Regions from separate parts of the Homo sapiens genome. Here region 1 is linked to region 2. The links are contacts of gene promoters, found by promoter capture Hi-C in blood cells and fetal thymus (Javierre and others, 2016). All regions are on one chromosome and are shown on one strand. Each heading gives the region's core, a stretch centred on a gene start or on the middle of the fragment in contact. The rest is flanking DNA. Distances are from core to core; before and after follow the strand shown.

Region 1 (2,700 bases), core at 37-2,536, 100 kb before region 2:
GGTTGTTGGGCTTTTGATGACTTCCAGTTTGTCATTATTATAAATAAGGCGGTCATGGACATCTTTGTGCATGTGGCTTTTTCCTTCTTATTAATTATTTCTGTAAGATAAGTGGCCAGGTCGGGGGGTAAGGCTGTTTTTATGCTGTTTGATGTGGTTTGCCAAGTTGCTTTCCAAAAGTAAATGAAGGAGGGTTTAATGTGAGGATACATCCACACTGGGAGCCAAGTACAGTCAGGCTTCAGGGAAATCGGAACTGAGAGCCAACCAGAGCTCAAACAGCTGCCTCAAGCTCCCAGGGGTCTGCTTTGTTTCAGCTTCTCTGCTTTCTCTGCTCCATCTCTCTTTCTCTATCTTTATTTATTTTTGACCTAGCAGAGCTATCAGTTCGGAGCATATAACTGCTCACATTTTCTGAGGGCTTGCTTTGTCCTAGGCACCATGCCAATTGCTCACATTGATTATCTTAATTTTCACAACTAGCCTCTGGGGTAGGAATTATAATTATCACCATTTTACTGATGAAGAAACTAAAATATGGAAAAACTAAGTCACTTGTTCAAAGATGCACAGTCAGTAACTGATGGGAACAAGTCCCACGTGACTGACCTCTCTCTCTCTTTAAACATGTGCTCACGACCTATACCAGTCTCCCCGGGAATATGGAGATGCCACATCCACCCACAACAGGCCAGCCCATCATTTCTGGGTCTCTGAGTTCAAATTTTGAAGAGGGAGAATCTGATTGGCTCAGCCCCTCCTATGTCTTGGAACCCTAGAAGTCCAGGCCCAATCAGCTGTGATAGGGGATGAGGTCGGGCAAGGAATGCCAGAAGAGGATGCTGGGCCAAGAGGGCCGGTGGAGGAACTGTTTTGATGTGCCAGCATTGGACTTTGCTGGAAAATATTAAAAAGTAATGTAACTGGTATAAATCTAACTTCTTAGCATTTCATTGTGTCTCAGCCTTTTGGCTAAGATCAAGCGCCGCCTATTTGCATTTGCCTTTCTTTGATTATTTGTGAGGCTGAATGTGTTTCTGTGTTCCTTTCTTTATGTGTGCATTGTCTGCCTCTTTGCCCATCTTGGTCATGCTGTATATCTTACAGATATTAATGCCAGACAGAACAACAGTATGCGGAGAGGGGCTGCAGGCGGAGTGAGGATGATGTCTCACTAAATGGCTTTTTCTTTGTCCCTAATGCCTAGCAGGCTTTGACGGGCTTCCTAATCAGTGTTTCTAAGAGCCTGCTTCTTCTCCATCACAACCTGGCATGTTGCTTGAACTAGACAGTCATTAGCAGCGACTTCTCCAGCCAGAGAATCTCTGAGTTTGCCCTCTCCTGCCTGGCCCCTTCTGAATGAATGAATCAACCTAGAAGAGTTTTCAGGGACCCTGATTTGCTGCTCATATTGTGGGACTCATTCTTGAGCTGCATCCCATGTCTTTGTTGGTCTGAGGCTTTTTTGTTGTCCCAATTCTGGGCTGACTGTGTGCACACCTTTGCTTCCAAGTCCCCAGAAACAAAACTTCTATACCTACATCTCTCTTTGTGAAAATGTGTCGTCCCCTTACTTATAGAAGGCTAAAGATCCTCTCCCATCTTCTATCCCTAGACCCCATAAGTAACAAAGTGCCCATTACTTTAGCACTGAAGTTTGGAGCCTTCCATGAAGGAATGTGAAGTCCAGGAGGTGACATGCTACAAAGTCCTATGCAGCTGACAGAGACAGTGAAGGCTCTGGGCCCAGGGAGAGACAGGTGTTTAGGGCAGCCAGAACTGAGGCAGGAAAAGCTCCTATGGGCAGGGATGGCAGGCAGCTATGAGGTCAGCCTTCATTCAGCAGCCAGATAGCTTTGCACTGAGCTACCCGCTCAGGGGCCAGCTGTTCCCAGTTGTGGGGGCTGGGGAGAGAGGGGTAGTGAGTGGTGCTCTCTGAAGCCAGGGATTCAGGTTGACTTGTGGGATCCCATCCATGACCTTGGCCTCTGAAATCCAGAGCTCCATCACAGCCCCTGGGAGCCAGGAAATGACTAGTGTTTTGGGTCATGGTGGTTAGTTCATGGACTCTTCTTTGGAACTGTGGGTGGCTTCTCAGGGGACCCTTCTCTGCCAGGCCCTAGAGATAATCAGGAGCTGCCCATGGGAGCTGCCAATGAGACTGATAGAAGAGGTGGGAAATAGTGCTCCTCTCTGCTGGCTCCCTAGGAAGGAAGCTGGCTCCCTAGCTCCTGACTGTGCAAAGCACGGGCCAATTATCACTCACCAGGGCCCCATCTCCTCATATCATGAGCCACAGTTTCACACTGCTTTAAAAATCTTTACTCTTGATGTGAGAAATATGGTCCCTCCTAACTCTCAAGATTAGCAGACAAAATATCCTGGGGTTGGACATTTGTTTCCTGTGGCTGAGACCATCATTTGTTGCTTTGTATCTGTTCTTCTCCTCTTCTATTAATATATGAATGAAAGTTTTAGTTGGACACAAAGCTGTCCACTAAGGACTATATTTTCCTGCTTCCCTTGTATTTAGATCTAGCTTGTGACTAGATCCTGGCCAATGGGATGGCAAGGAGGGAGCATTCCCTTTCATCTTTCCCTCTTCCCTCTGGCTGGAATGCAAATGTGATGGCAGGAGCTGTAGCAGTCATTTTGGACTACATGATGAAAACTGCACATTGAGGAAGGCAGGGCAACAAG
Region 2 (2,720 bases), core at 89-2,588:
TCAGTGAGACCAAGAACCCACCAATTCCGGACACAGGAGGATCGCTTGAGCCCAGGAATTCAAGACCAGCCTGGGCAACCCAGCAACACTCCATCTCTACAGAAGTTGTAAAATTAGCTGGGCGTGATGGGGCGCATCTGTAGTCCTAGCTACTTATCCTAGCCTTGGCGAGAGGATCACTTGAGCCCAGGAGGTTAAGGCTGCAGTGAGCCATGATTGCACCACTGCACTCCAGCCGGGGTAACAAAGTCAGACCGTGTCTCTAAAAATAAATAAATAAATAAAAATAAAATAAATTTGACAACCAAGTTTAAATGGTGTTCTCATTATTCCCATTTTACAGATGCAGTCACTGGGGCCCCCAAGAAGTTAAGTGATCTGCCTAAGATCACATGCCTTTGTTTATATGTGTTGGAATTTTTCAATTCTCTCTGGAAATCCACATCCTCCACCCCCAACCCAGACTCCAACACAACTGCTTCCACCACGGCCCACCTGCGTACCCCACACATATCCCTGAAGTGCAGACTTCCTCCCATCCTTCCCCAGGAAGATTCCCTGGTCTGTGGGGTAGCGAGTGTTGGGGTGGTCTCTCCTTCCCTCCCATGCTTCTAGATTCCTCTGTAGGGTCCCGGTTTTGTTTTTGGTGTGGCAGCAAGCTCACTGCCTTTTTGAGTACTGTATGTCAGTGAGTTTGCATGCACACACCTGGAGGAGGGATGTGTGGGCATGAGAGGTATCTGGGCAAGTGGGCTTACTTGCCCACCTGGGGCACATGTGGGTACAGTGCAGTGGAGCATACATTGCCTAGATTGTAACCGTGTGTGTGCCTAGACACAGGCAAATGAGCCCATGTGGGTGTTCATGAAGGGCCTGCCCCCTGCATGTTTGGGGGTCTGTAGAATGAGTCCCCATTTCTCTCCCCTTCCCAAATAACTGCCACCATCTTCAGTTCAGACTCCTGGGCCCCAGGTAAGGGGCTGGTGAAAACCGCCTGTGACTGGGGACAGAGACACCTGAGTCTTAAGCCCCACCCAGGCTGCTAGTGCCCTTGAGCAGGCATCACCCCACCCAGGCAGCGGGAGTGTCCTCACCCAATGGGATAGGGTGACATGGGGGAGGAGGTTTGAAGCGGGGAGAAGGCAGCGAGGCTTTCAGCTCCCTAGATGGGAGGCTCATTACCCTAGCACTCAGTAGGTTGTAGGGAAGGGGGACTGAGCCAGGACTTGGCACTGACTACAAAGGGTAGGGGCAGCCCCCAGCACTCCCGCCGCGGCAGGCCAGGGGAGGGGCTGTGACGTTTGGTGGCCTCATGCAGCTGAGAGGAAGTAGCTAATTGCCAACCTGATGACTGGCGGCTGAGGAGTGGGGTGATGATGCCACTGGCAGAAGCAGGCGCCCTGGCCCAAGGAGGAGGCCCTTCAGCAACGGAGTGGGCCTGCATTCTGCGGAGGGTGAGACTGAGGTGGCTGCAGTCAAAGGAGAAGGGGGCAGGGGTTTGTTGAGGCTGTGACCGTGGGAAAGCGCTTCTCCAGGGCTTCCCTCAGCTTCAAGGAGAAAGAGTTCAGAGGCCCTGAGGGGATGAAGGGACTTGTGAAGGGGCTTCAGGGGGATGGGTTGGGGGGAAGGAGGTTCCTATTCTTACTCCCCTTCTGCCTATGCTCCCCCAATGTTCCTGTCTCTCCCCTCCCCCACCTTGGCCCCCTCTTTGGCCCCTGTGGCCAAAGTTGTTGAGGAAGGAGGGAGTAGATGGAGGGCTCTTTTCACCAGAAGACCCCCAGGCACAAGCAGCCCACCTTACTGATGGTCAGAGCATCCAGAAGAAGTGGCAAGACTTCAGCTGTCCTCAAAGCAGGAAGACAGAGTGTTTCTGGCAGAAAGAACAGCACAAGCAAAGGTTAGGCAGTGGGGTCTGGAGAGGCTGGTGGAGGACTGGGGCTTGGCTTCAATGGTTATGAGAGGAGGTGGGCAGGATGTTCTGTACCAAGGGCCACACTGTCCCTTCCTGGAAGAAACAGTGGGTACCCAGCACCCAGAGCTTCTCCCACATGCTGGCCACCGCCTCTGGCCCCAGTAGACCTGGCCCTCAACTGCCTCAGCAAGCCTCACAGGTTGGGGACCCCACCCTCATTATTCTCAAGTGCATCAACCCCGAAGGACTGAAGCCCCGAGTCCCAATAAACAGGTCCCATCCATCCGTAGGCCAGTCCGCTGGGCCCCTAGCACCCCCTATGGGCAGGAAGCAACACTAATGGAGGAGGAGCCTCCAGCAGCCTGGGGTGGGGTGGGGGTGGGAGAGTGAGACGTGAGGGAGGAGAGAGACTTGCCCTCTAGGAAGCGGACAGACCATGCCTCAGGAAACCCCAGTGTCACAGGTCACAGACACTGACCTTGAAGCGTTACTCTCATGGGTGAAATTTAGCCCCTGTCCTCAGGAAGCTCCCAGTCTGACGGGGGACACATATAGTGCTCTCAGAGCTGCCTTCTTTAGGGTGAAACTCAGTATCTGGGCTTCAGGAAACTCCCAGTGTAAGGGGAGAGACACGACCCTGCCCTTAGGGATCTCTCAAATGAGGCATACCCACTGGACTTTCGGGAACCATCAATCTGTTTCCAGACATGGATTAGAGATTTCAATGCCTCAAGGGCTGCCAGGAAAAAAAATACAAGACGTCCAATTAAATTGAATATCAGATAAACAACGAATAATATTTTAGCAT

What was found. The method cuts DNA at HindIII sites, captures the fragments that hold promoters and counts their contacts. A CHiCAGO score of 5 or more calls a contact.
Region 1: a fragment that was not itself captured here is called in contact with the fragment with the promoter of LINC03040 in region 2 in 1 of 17 cell types (monocytes); the score reaches 5.2 in monocytes.

What each region holds. Positions count from the first base shown.
Region 1 is chr6:43,895,903-43,898,602 of GRCh38, forward strand. All of the region lies in intron 1 of LINC01512 (long intergenic non-protein coding RNA 1512), which reads left to right. The region is part of intron 2 of LOC105375070 (a long non-coding RNA gene); the gene reads left to right. Among named protein-coding and RNA genes, the nearest start is that of LINC01512, 6.2 kb to the left of the region's middle. The HindIII fragment of the contact is 3,034 bases long and covers 1-2,700 here.
Region 2 is chr6:43,999,247-44,001,966 of GRCh38, forward strand. It overlaps LINC03040 (long intergenic non-protein coding RNA 3040), which reads left to right and starts at 1,339. Exons shown (of 3, transcript NR_160956.1): 1 at 1,339-1,454. It overlaps SCIRT (stem cell inhibitory RNA transcript), which reads right to left. Exons shown (of 5, transcript NR_125864.1): 2 at 1,797-1,870; 3 at 1,345-1,469; 4 at 1-262. LOC124901321 (a long non-coding RNA gene) reads left to right here. Exons shown (of 2, transcript XR_007059591.1): 2 at 1-308. RefSeq lists an enhancer at 1,446-1,595. The HindIII fragment of the contact is 11,725 bases long and covers 1-2,720 here.